Linked DNA regions of Homo sapiens: regions 2 and 3 are each linked to region 1. The links are contacts of gene promoters, found by promoter capture Hi-C in human tissues and cell types (Jung and others, 2019). All regions are on one chromosome and are shown on one strand. Each heading gives the region's core, a stretch centred on a gene start or on the middle of the fragment in contact. The rest is flanking DNA. Distances are from core to core; before and after follow the strand shown. Region 1 holds the start of LUC7L (LUC7 like). Region 2 holds the start of DECR2 (2,4-dienoyl-CoA reductase 2). Region 3 holds the start of RHBDF1 (rhomboid 5 homolog 1).

Region 1 (3,790 bases), core at 751-3,250:
ATAGCCTTCTTTCCATAGGTCCCGCCACGTTTTAAGGAAACGTGCCTTTTCTGTACATTTGAAGGCAAGTTCTTCCACTTGAGCTGATACTGCAGATGTGGCTTCAAGAAGTTTGGTTAATGAAAAGGCTGCGTCTCCGATCTGCAGCCCCACTTCCTCCAGCGGGTCCACCGTTCGGCCGCTGCTCCTGCTCGGAACTGGCCAGCCCAAACTCACTGGGCTGCCAGGGTAAGATGCTGCAGAGGCGTCTGAAGAGGAGGGAGAAGGAGGCGGCGGGGGCGGCGAAGAAACCTGCAACTTCTCAGGGTCGGCCATGGGGAAGGGCTGGCACCGCGGAATCCGACCCGAGCAGCCCAACGGACACCCTATTTATTTATTTTAAATAGAGAGCAGGGGCCTGGCGTTCTGGCTCACAGCTGTAATCCGAGGACTTTGGGAGGCTGAGGTGGGCGGATCACCTGAGGTTAGGAGTTTAAGACCAGCCTGGCCAACATGGCGGAACCCCGTCTCTGCAAAAGTACAAAAAAAAAGTTAGTCGGGAATGATGGCGGGTGCCTGTAATCCCAGCTACTGGGGAGACTGAGACAAGAGAATCGCTTGAACCCAGGAGTCAGAGGATGCAGGAAGCCGAGATCGCGCCACTGCACTCCAGGCTGGGCGACAGAGGGAGACTCCGTCTCAAAAATAAATAAAATACGGCAGGGCGCGGTGGCTCACGCCTGTAATCTCAGCACTTTGGGAGGCCGAGGCAGGCAGATCACAAGGTCAGAAGTTCAAGACCAGCCTGGCCAATACGGTACAACACCGTGTCTACCGAAAATACAAAAATCAGCTGGGCATGGTGGCTGGCTACTTGAGGTCAAGACTTTGAGACCAGCCTGGCCAGCATGGTGAAACCCCGTCTCTACTTAACATTCAAAAATTAGCCGGAGGGGGTGGCGGGCGCCTGAAATTCCAGCTACTGGGGAGACTGAGGCAGGAGAATCGCTTCAACCCGGGAGGCGGAGCTTACAGTGAGCCGAGATCGCGCCACAGCATTCCAGCCTGGGTGACAGAGCAAGACTCCGTCTCAAAAAAAAAATAAACAAATAAAAAATAAAGACCGGGCGTGGTGGCTCATGCCTGTAATCCCAGCACTTTGGGAGGTTGAGGCAGGAGAATCGCTTGAACCCAGGAGGCGGAGGTTGCGGAGAGCCAAGATCGCGCCATTGCACTCTAGCCTGGGCGAAACTCCGTCTCAAAAATAAATAAATAAATAATAGAGGTTTAATATAATAGAAGTATATGCCAGACTATGCACACATAAGTGCATGCTATAATTCTATTATCACATAAAATAACTGCTTACATATGCCTTTTCTTTAGTCCCTGGGACAGTAGACCATGAGCTCACAAAAGGACGACCACGAGGTTGTAATCATAGAACCTAATATTAATGCCATGACTGATGGCCAAACGTGGTGGTTCACACCAGTAATCCCAATACTTTGCCGGGCTGAGGCGGGAGGATAAGGAGCCGGGGAGGTCGAGGCTGCAGTGAGCGGTAATCGCGCCACTGCATTCCAGCCTGGGCGACGGAGCAAGACCCTCGCTCTAAATAAATAAATAAATAAATAAATAAAATTCCATGCTTTATTTAACTTTCACAAAAATCATATGAGGGGCACCTTTAGAACCCTCATTTCACAGATTTAAAAAAACGAGCGTCGGGGAGCTAAATAATATGCTCACGGTTTCATGGCTAGCTTAGAAAAAGCACGGATTCATCTTGTTTTTGATTGACTGTATTTCATTTTATTGTAGTTTACCCTCCGTAGAGACTCGTTTGAGGTCCTGGGGGTCTAGAGTAAAATCAGGGTTGGGATTTTGGTTCCGCCGTTGGACAACTTGCGACCACTCAGAGCCTCAGCCTCCCTAAGCACCCACCCCAGAAACTACATTTCCCAGCAGGGCGTGCGCCGGCGCCGTCGTACTTCCTCCCGGCGTCCCCCGCGGCGGGAAAGAGCCGAGTGGGCTCGAGGCCGACGCGACCATCGTTTGTCGACGCCGCTGCCACCGCCTGCCTGAGAGAAGTCGTCGCGGCCGACCCCGTCGCCTCCGCCGGCTACCATGTCCGCCCAGGCGCAGATGCGGGCCCTGCTGGACCAGCTCATGGGCACGGCTCGGGACGGTGAGTCAGAGCGGCCAACCAGGCGAGGGTCTGGGGTGGGAGTGAGGCGAGGCCGCCGGGCGGCCTGAGGCGGGGGCCGCGATCGTCTGCGCCTGCGCCTGCGCGGGGCATCGCTCCTCCTCCCCCGCGCTCCGACCGCAGGCGCCGGGCCTTTGTCTAAGCCGGTGCGTCTCTGAGGCGGCCGTGGGTCCAGGTCGGGCTCCTCTCTCGGAGTCTGCGCCATGGATGGGGCTTCAGCCTCCTTCCTATGTACCGTCCTGCTACTTCCTCCCCGGCGGGCGCCGCGGCTCCGTGCCCCTCCGCGAACTGTGGAGTCGGCGGAGGGCTGGAATCAGCGTGGGCTCCAGGTCGCTGGCAGCCGGGTGGCAGAACTCTTCCGAGGCTCCTTGGGAAGAAGCTACACCCGAGGGAGCCGGATGGGCCTCGAAAACCTGGCCCGCTCTGGTTCTGTACCATTGCAAGGGGAACCGTAAACTGAGCTTTTCTAACGTGGGTTTCTGCCAAGTACTTTTCCAGCTGCCCCCTTCCCCCCAGCACACAGGAGAGCCTCTGTGTAGCCAGCGCTTGACAGTCGTTAGGTAGGTTGTACTGTGTAGGGAGGAGCTCAAGATCATGATGGTTGTCACAGGAGAAAGCGGTTGCATCTTTGCAAAACTATATACCTGCTGTGGTTTGTGTTTTCTTTTCTGCTGAGTAATGAAGTTGTAAGTTCACACTGGCACATTCTCAGGGCTGTGCAGATTATTTGCACTTTATTTCATAGGTGAATAAGTGCTTTTTAGCTTTCTTTGTATATTGAGTTGCTTTTGAATTGCTTCCCATATTTTTATTTCATACAAACTGAACAATTGTGGCCCCTCTATTTTATTTATAAAGGTTCAGTGTATCTTTGCCTGCCTACATCAATCTGCAAGGGAGTTGCAGAAAGCCTCATGTTCATCGAGCCGTGAGTCACAACCAATTTCTAAGCTGTTATAACAAAAAAGTGTTTGCTTTTTTTCACAAGTAACTTTAAAAGTGTAGTTTAGAAAGAAAACATTTTCAATAAAAAGACACTACATTAATCCTGGATGCTTGCAAATCCTAAAATATATTCCTCCTCTAGCGTTGCACAGCTCTGTGTTGTATACACAGACTAGCTTTAAAATTTGTCACATACCACTTTACCTTTACTTTTATGTATCATTCCCCCGACTTCCTTACTGCAGGTGTGGGCAAGAAAACTTTTCCTTTAACACTTTTCAACAGCGGGCATAAAATTCTGCAGCTGAGGTCTTGAAGAATGCAGATGGGTACAGTATGTGTTGGAGCTCACAGTGTGTATTGACTAACCTAGTTCCTTTTTTGCTTTTTTTGGTATTGTCTTGTTAAAAGTGACTCCCAGGTAGCAACTCTCTTTTTTAAGGGTGGGAACGAAAGGGACGTAGGAAGAATAGATCTAGATTATTTAACAGTCTTCGATAGAGTTTGAAAGCTTTCTTCTTCATTCAATTTTGGGCAAAATACTGCCTCTGCATTTGTTCATAACAAAAAGATTAGATTAATAAGTAGCTTTTGTTGGTGGAAATTACCAGCTCTATAAGTCACCCTTGGTGGTTCATGGACCTCTGATTAGCTTGG
Region 2 (3,790 bases), core at 339-2,838, 170 kb before region 1:
ATAATATGGCTTTTTTATTTATTAGAGATTTTCTTGTACGCATTAAATGTGTACTGATCGGTATGACTGGCACAAACTGTACCAGATGGATGGCAAACTTTTGCTGATCTCCAAGTTGCCTTTCCTATTCTTAATTATTAAAGATTAATTTTGGGCCAGGTGCAGCGTCTCACTCCTGTCATCCCAGCACTTTGGGAGGCCGAGGCAGGTGGATCATCTGAGGTCAGGAGTTCCAGACCAGCCTGACCAACATGGTGACACTCACCTCTACTAGAAATACAATTAGCCCAGCGTGGTATTGTGTGCCTATAGTCCCACTTGGGCGCACTGAGGCTGAAGCAGGAGAATTGGGAGGCTGAGGCAGGAGAATTGCTTCAACCCAGAATGAGACTCCGTTTCGAAAAAAAACTTTTTTTTTTTCCTGCAGAACACTCAGAGAGAATTGTCAATACCTGTCCTTGGAGAACATAATTTAAAACTTGTTTTCTTTTTTTGAGATGGAGTTTCACTCTTGTTGCCCAGTGCAATGGTGCGATCTCGGCTCACTGCAACCTCCACCTCCCGAGTTCAAGTGATTCTCCTGCCTCAGCCTCCCAAGTAGTTGGGATTACAGGTGTGCGCCACCACACCCGGCTAATTTTTTGTATTTTTAGCAGAGACGGGGTTTCACCATGTTGGCCAGGCTGGTCTCGAACTCCTGACCTCTGGTGATCTACCCGCTTCGGCCTCCCAAAGAGCTGGGATTACAGGCGTGAGCCACTGCTCCTGGCAAAAGATCAAAATTTTAATAGAAACTTGAAAATGTTGCCAATTGAAAAAAAGAAAAGGAAAAAAAAAAAAGGATCCGCCCATTAGCCGAGTGAGGGCAGGTGACCGGGGAGGATCGACCTTTGCCCGGGCTGCCTTCTCTTGTGAACACCAAGGCGTTTGCAGGAAAATGAAGAGCTGCTGGGCAAAACCTGGCATTCCTGGGCCTTCTGGGTCTTCCGGAAAAATGATTTCAACCTAAAATTTTCTGTTAAGAAAGAGGCCAGGTTGGGCCGGGCGCGGTGGCTCACGCCTGTAAATCCCAGCACTTTGGGAAGCCGAGGCGGGTGGATCACCTGAGGTCAGGAGTTCGAAAAGAGCCTGACCAACACGGTGACACCCCCTCTCTACTAAAAATAAAAATTAGCCGGGCTGAGGCAGGAGAATCGCTTGAACCCGGGAGGCAGAGTTTGCAGTGAGCGGAGATCGTGCCACTGCACTCCAGCCTGGGCGACACAGCGAGATTCCGTCTCAAAAAAAAAAAAAGAAAGAAAAAAGAAAGAAAGGAGCCAGGCAAGACAGGTTTCCTAACACGCGAGCCCTCGGGGACCACGTGGGGGCGCCGGCGCCCGCGGACCGGACCCCGCACCAAGGCTGCGCTCGCTTCCCAGGCCCCGCTCACCGCAGCAGGTCCGGGCAGAAGAGGTGGCGGTACGCGGGGAGACAGTCGTCCCCCTCCACGTCGGGCGGCGGCTGGGCCATGGCGCTCCCGTCGGGGACTGCGGGGACAACGGGCGGGAGCGGCCTCGGCCTCCAGGACCCGGCGCGCAGCTGCGAACTCGCCTGGAACCGGGAGCCCCGCCCCACTCCCCGGACGCCCCGCCCCTGCCCTGATTGCTTCCCGGAGGCCCCGCCCCTCCCCCGAATTCTCCCCGGAGGCCCCGCCCCCGCCCGCGGCCTGCTGGGACTGGAAGTCGGCGCGCGAGGCGCAGGCGCATTGCGGGGCCGGGGGCGCGGTTCCCGCGGCAGAAGCTCGGCGGTCTGCGGGTCTCCTCCCCGAGTCTTTTTCACAGGTATTCGGCGTCAGCGCCGCGTTCAGAGCCTCCAGGACTTGTGGGATACCCCTGGCTCCTGGGTCCAGGCCAGGCTCGCAGCCTCTGGGCTCCCCGTTCGCCTCCCCGTAAACACCATGGGGAGGGCCGGGGCCCAGGGAAGCGCGGCCAGCCCCGCGCCGCTTCCCAAAATGACCCGTTTTGAGGCCAATAAAGAAGGGTCCGGGGCCGGGCGCGGTGGCTCACGCCTGTAATCCCAACACTTTGGGAGGCCGAGGCGGGCGGATCACGAGGTCAGGAGTTCGAGACCATCCTGGACAACATGGCGAAACCCCCTCTTTACTAAAAATACAAAAATTAGCCGGGCATTGTGGCGGGTGCCTGTAGTTCCATCTACTCGGGAGGCTGAGGCAGGAGAATCGCTTGAACCCGGGAGGCGGAGGTTGCAGTGAGCCGAGATCGCGCCACTGCACTCTATCCTGGGCGACAGAGCGACACTCCGTTTCAAAAACAAAAACAAAAAAAAAAGGGTCCGTTACTTCTGTTCCGCGTGGGGGCCCGGGCGGGGCTATGCCGCGAACCCAGGACGGGGCGCCCCGCCCGCACCACTGTTGGAAGACGGGGGTCCGCGACGGCCACGGGGGAAAAACACGCAGGGCCGCTCCTGAGCTGAACACACCCGCGGGCCAGCGGCTTCAGGGGCGTGACAGAGCCGCCAGCGCTACAGTAATGGCTGCCAGGCCCTTTCTGCGCTGGTTGGCCTCAGCCCGCCGGCCCCTCTCTGCCCCTTCCCCGGGAAGGCAGCTTCTCCTTTGGCGGGATCACAGCACCGGCTCGCGCCTAGCTTGGGTTCTCCGGATTGCAGGCTGGTGGTCTCTGGACCCCTGCCTGGCTCATACATCCAACAACGTTATGGAACTGGGTGTGCAAAACTTCCTCTTTACTGTTCAACTCCTTACAACTTGCATAAAGGCGTCATTTCTACCTCAGAGCTGGGGGAAGTCATAATTAGTGTACCACCCATGTGCTGGGCACAGTGAATTTTAATGCCTCCCCTTTAGAGGAGAGGTTATGATAATGTGAAGACCCCCCCCCACCACAAAGGTTGTCCGGCACTTTGGTGCAAAAAGGATTGGTCCAATCTTGTGCTGGCTTGGGGTACAGAAAGGCACTGAAGTTGGTGGCTCAAACTCCTCTGGGCTGGGGTGGGGCAGAGGTGAACAGGGAAGTAAGTGGTTTGGGACAGGCAGGTTTGGATGTGGGCTTGGGTTCTTGCTGACGGAGGTAGTTGGTCCTGCGTGGGGGATGGGGTGGTAAGGGCAGCTTGAGCCTCAGGCTGGGTGGATGCTGCTGTGCTGGCCCCCGTCTGCCCAGCTCACCAGCTCACTGCTCTGGAACCACAGCTGGATCTCCCGCTGGGCCCCCTCCACGGAGTCGCTGGCGTGGATGACATTCCTGTGCCAGGACAGGAGCAATGTGAGGCTCAGGCTTCATGTGCACCCTGAGGAATCCCAGGGACCATCTGCTGCTCCCGTTGCCCTCTGTCTAGGGGAGCAAGCCTGTGACTGCAGACAGGGAAGGAGTAACAGTGGAGCTGGGAAACCGGGTTCCAGCCTGGCCTCGGCCTCTTACAGCCTCGTGGACCCGCCCAGGCCCCAGCTTTTGGGAGCCTCATTTCCCCCCAAGTTGCCCCGTGCCAACCCCTTGGGGTGTCAGGTAACAGGCAACGATGGCACGGTACACACAACACAAAGGGAACACCTCATTGCCCTGTGTGCCCTGGGAGAACACGGCTCTCACCAGTGTGAGCTGTCATGTCCGACCTGGCTTCATCCTAGCACAGCAAGACAGCCAGGTCTCGTGGATCTGCCACCACCCCAAGTGATGGCCCTCCTTGCCCCCAGCAGCAGCCTGGTGTATCAGGACCCCCGTACCTGCTGATGTGGACGCTGAAGTCACCCCTTATGGTTCCTGGGGCAGCCTCAGCCGAG
Region 3 (3,790 bases), core at 759-3,258, 160 kb after region 1:
CCCCCTCTGATCATCCTTCTGATGACCTCACTCAGGAGGCCAGGGTGGGCTGAGAGCCTGGGGATTCCTGGACACAGGCTCTGAGCTGGGGATTTGCCTGCAGAGGCAGACTGGGGCATGCTCCCCACTGAAGGTGACTCCTGGGTGCGGGGGGTTTCAGCTCTGAGCCAGCTGTGACTGGTGCTCCTGGCAGCTGGCGATGAGTGTCTGGGTCTTGGAGCGGGTCTAGGTGGGGTCTGACAGAGTCCACTGCAGGAGGAGACCTGCTGACACCAGATGCCCAGCTGTGGCATGCTTTGGAGGCAAGCCCAGTCCCCAGCTTTCCAGAGAGGACACCACTTCTGGCCCTGCCAGCCTAGTCTGGGCATCCAGGCCCGATAGGGCTTGCTTATCCCTGGCAGGTCAATAATGCTAAGCATGGAGACTGTCCTGTCTCTGGCTGTGAGCCTGGCATGGGAGGGGTGGCACGTGCAGGCTATCGGAGCACTGAGTGTTGGCACTGGGGCAGGCTCCCTCTCACCCGGTGTCCGTGATGCACTGGCAGTCATCCCCTGGTGGAGTTACCCTCCACCCCCTCCAAAGCTTCCATTGTCTCCTTCTACATGAGAATTGTGTTGATATTGCTTGTGTTCAGAGAGCACCCATTATGTGCAGGCACCGCCCTATCCCGTGGCATGGACAAGGATATGGGCAGGGGAATCTTGCCCAGGCTCTGGGATCTACCGGTAAGTGTACCAGCACCTTTAGTTCAAATTCTCCCCTTTTCTGTCTAGCCAAGGAGCAGGCCATTGTCTGCGTCGGGCCCTCAAGTGCAACAGCTCAGTTTGGAGAGGGCTGGTGCCACCCAGACCCAGAGGATGGCACTGAAGCAGCAGCACCTTGTGACCAGCACAGGGCCTGAAGACACATTTGTCCGAGGCATGGGGGGGCACCCTGTAGAGGGGTCCTTAGGGACCCATGGGACGAAGGGATCCCTGCACCCTCTATCCAGAGGAAGCCTTGGCCACCCACCACTCAGAGCTCCTGGACAGCCCTGCCCGTACTCTGCTGTTGGCACCCCTGTCCCCCACCCTGGGAGGGTCAGCCCACCCAGTGTCAGGAGAGAAATGCTGGGAAACTCTCACCAGCAGCCCCAGCGGAAAGCAGAGTGCCATTTTGAGTCCAGCCCAGATTGTGCAGGGATATGAGCCCACCCCGGGGTGGCCGCTGAGCTCTGAGACAGTGAGAAGAGCCCAGAGTGGACACCAGACACTGCGCTGCCTCTGCTGAGTGGCTTCGGGTGGGGCCGGTGCAGCCTGGCCTGAGTGCCTGCTGGTGGAGCGGGGCTTCTGGGGGTAGGGGCACAGGGCAGGGGGAGGGGTAATGACTGTGGTCCTGAACTGAGTGTGTGCATCGGTGTGTACACGTGTGTGTGTGCACGTGTATGTACCCATGAAAGATGTACATGAGTAGGTGGGTGCATGTGAGCACGTGCATGTGCAGGCGAATGAACGCATGAAGTGGAAGGATGTGGGGACGTGTGTGTATGATTGTGAGTGATCGGTGCACATGAATGTGTGTGAGGGAATGTGAGTGCTTAGTGGGATTGGGTGAGTGTGGGATACAGGACTTGTCAGCGTGGGCCTCTGGAGGAGGTCGGGTTTAGGGGAGCCAGGGATACACACCCATCCTCCGCCCTTTACCCCGTGCCTGCTCTCCCTCCTCACCCTCTTCTCAGCACAAATCAGGGCAGGACAGCTCAAGCCTCAATCTGGAGCCAGGGAGAGGCGGAGCCGCCCAGCGCTGACACTGCGGTCCGCTCCCACCAGGTCCTCCGTCGGGCCGAGGCGCTGGAGACCCCAGCCCCAGGTGTCCCCGCAGGCGGACCCTGGGGAGAAGGGAGCCCGGCGGCCTTCCGGGAGGAGGTGACTTGGGCCGGGCAGGCGGGCGGCGCGCATTCCTGAGCTCTGAGTCAGCGCGACCGCCCCGCTCCGGCCGGGCCCGCCCCCGGGCGCACGCCCCTCGCTCCAGGGCATTCCCGGGCGGGCCGGACCGGCGGGCGGGCGGGGACTCGGCGCGGGCCCTCCCGGCCAGCGGCGGCAGCCTCCTCCCCGGCGCCCTCAGGACCCCCCAGAGCCCCCGGCGGCGGCAGTGAGTGAGCGCGGCCGGGAGCGCAGGGCTCCGGGGGCGGGCGGGTTCCGGGGCTGCGTCCGGAGGGCGGGGCGAGTCCTCAGCACCCGGGGCCGGAGCTGCTCAGAGCGGCCGGGGCCGTGTCGGGGCCGGGGCCGGGGCCGGGGAGGGGTCGCGGCGAGGCCCCCCCGGGGCGGCCGGGCTTTTCTTCCTGGAGTTTCCCGAGTCGCCCGCGGAGGCGGCCCAGCCCCGGATTCCTAGCCCGGCGCGCCGCAAAAATAGCCCGTGGCCGGATTAGCAGCCCCAGCGGCCTGGCCGGGCGGGACAGCTCGGCTCCAGCCCCCGCCCAACAGCTGAGGGTCCCAGGAGCGGGAGTCTAGAGTCCGGGGGTGCCCCAGGTTCCTCTGAACTCCCCCCGCTGCATTTTCCTTCCCGGCCACGACCGGCGGGTGGTGTCTCCGAGCTGAAACTCCAGCCCAGGGCGGGATGGTCCCTGTCCCGGCTGCCCTCACCGATGGGAATAGCAGGAGCCGTGGAGCTGGGGGTGGGGGACTGACTCCGCCTTCTGCCCCACGACACTGACTCCCCCATCTGTACACTTCGAAGCTCCAGGGTGGGCTGGGAGCGACTCCCGAAGACAGACTCTCACTCTGTGCGCAGAGGCCAACGGGGACAGGCCTTCTCCCGGCTGGGGTGACAGCCAGACCCCAGATGCTCAGGGCATTGGCAGAGGGCCTGGTTGTCTGTCATGCTGGGGGCATGTTTGTGGGGCTGGGCGGGGAATGGGCAGGGGATCTTCCCTGGCCCCCCAGGGCCTGCTTCCGACCGAGGTGGTCCTGACCAGAGTTTCTTCTGTGTGTGCCGCTTGAGATGGTGAATGTGTGTGTCTGTCCCGGTGGGTGGGGCCTAGGTCTGGAGGCCCTTCTCCTATCCTGGGAACTCCCACCCGCCAACGGGACTTCCTGTTGGAGACCGGGAGAAGATTCAAGGATGAAACTGGCTTTTCAGGTTTGACCCAGCTAGATGCCTGGGCAGTCCCAGGCTCGGTTCTCCTCACCCCTGTGGAGCTAACCCCAACCTCCTAGCCCCGACCCCAAGGGTGGGCAGAAGCTGGGGACCAAGCAGCTGGCTGGGGCTCAAGGGGTCCCTGAGGCGGAGCCCCCTGCCACCAGGGGTCATTCTGGGCAAGCCGGGCCCCTTTTCCTGAGAATGGGGCAGGGGCAAATGGAGTGCATGGGAGTCTGGTGGTGCCAGATTGAAGGGGCCTCAGACCCTTTCCCAGCCCTTCCAAGTAGCTTTCACTGGCTGGGTGGCCTCCGTTGCACAAGCAGGCCCCTCAACCAGCACCCCTCATGAGCTGGCCGGTCCCCACCTTGGGGAGCTGACTTTCTAGGGTGCGCTCTTGGTTTAGGGGGAGTCGTCCAGGTCTCCCCTGCCTTTCAGGGACCATCAGGCCCTCCCCTAGGATCTTCCCAGCTACAGTCCCTGCCCAGGGCACCCCCAGTTGCTCTTGGCTGTGAGGGCCTCCGCCACACCGGCTCCAGTTCCCCCACCTCAGTGTCTGTGCCAGGATCACATTTTGCCCAGTGATTGGATTCCTTGGCTTCTGCCTTTTTTTCTGAGTTGGACGATTTTGGGGGTGAGTCCTTCCTTCTTCAACTGAGATGCCCCTGATGGAGCA

Evidence for each region. Contacts are between HindIII fragments. The study calls those that stand out against the background at their distance.
Region 2: a contact is called between the fragment with the promoter of DECR2 here and the fragment with the promoter of LUC7L in region 1, in 1 of the 25 tissues and cell types used here (dorsolateral prefrontal cortex).
Region 3: a fragment that was not itself captured here is called in contact with the fragment with the promoter of LUC7L in region 1 in 1 of the 25 tissues and cell types used here (spleen).

What each region holds. Positions count from the first base shown.
Region 1 is chr16:227,659-231,448 of GRCh38, reverse strand. It overlaps LUC7L (LUC7 like), which reads left to right and starts at 2,000. Exons shown (of 10, transcript NM_201412.3): 1 at 2,000-2,170. The coding sequence starts at 2,110. It also overlaps the pseudogene C4orf46P1. RefSeq lists an enhancer at 1,628-2,324 and a silencer at 2,157-2,386. The HindIII fragment of the contact is 19,974 bases long and covers 1-3,790 here.
Region 2 is chr16:399,683-403,472 of GRCh38, reverse strand. DECR2 (2,4-dienoyl-CoA reductase 2) reads right to left here and starts at 1,588. Exons shown (of 9, transcript NM_020664.4): 1 at 1,430-1,588. The coding sequence starts at 1,509. It overlaps NME4 (NME/NM23 nucleoside diphosphate kinase 4), which reads right to left. Exons shown (of 5, transcript NM_005009.3): 4 at 3,734-3,790; 5 at 2,719-3,254. The coding sequence ends at 3,131. RefSeq lists enhancers at 2,023-2,608, 2,456-2,765, 3,779-3,790. The HindIII fragment of the contact is 11,138 bases long and covers 1-2,821 here.
Region 3 is chr16:70,853-74,642 of GRCh38, reverse strand. RHBDF1 (rhomboid 5 homolog 1) reads left to right here and starts at 2,012. Exons shown (of 18, transcript NM_022450.5): 1 at 2,012-2,130. It overlaps LOC124903617 (a long non-coding RNA gene), which reads right to left and starts at 1,816. Exons shown (of 2, transcript XR_007064932.1): 1 at 1,707-1,816; 2 at 1-263. RefSeq lists enhancers at 1-163, 164-980, 981-1,798, 3,435-3,790 and silencers at 1,953-2,012, 2,259-2,442. The HindIII fragment of the contact is 4,515 bases long and covers 1-3,790 here.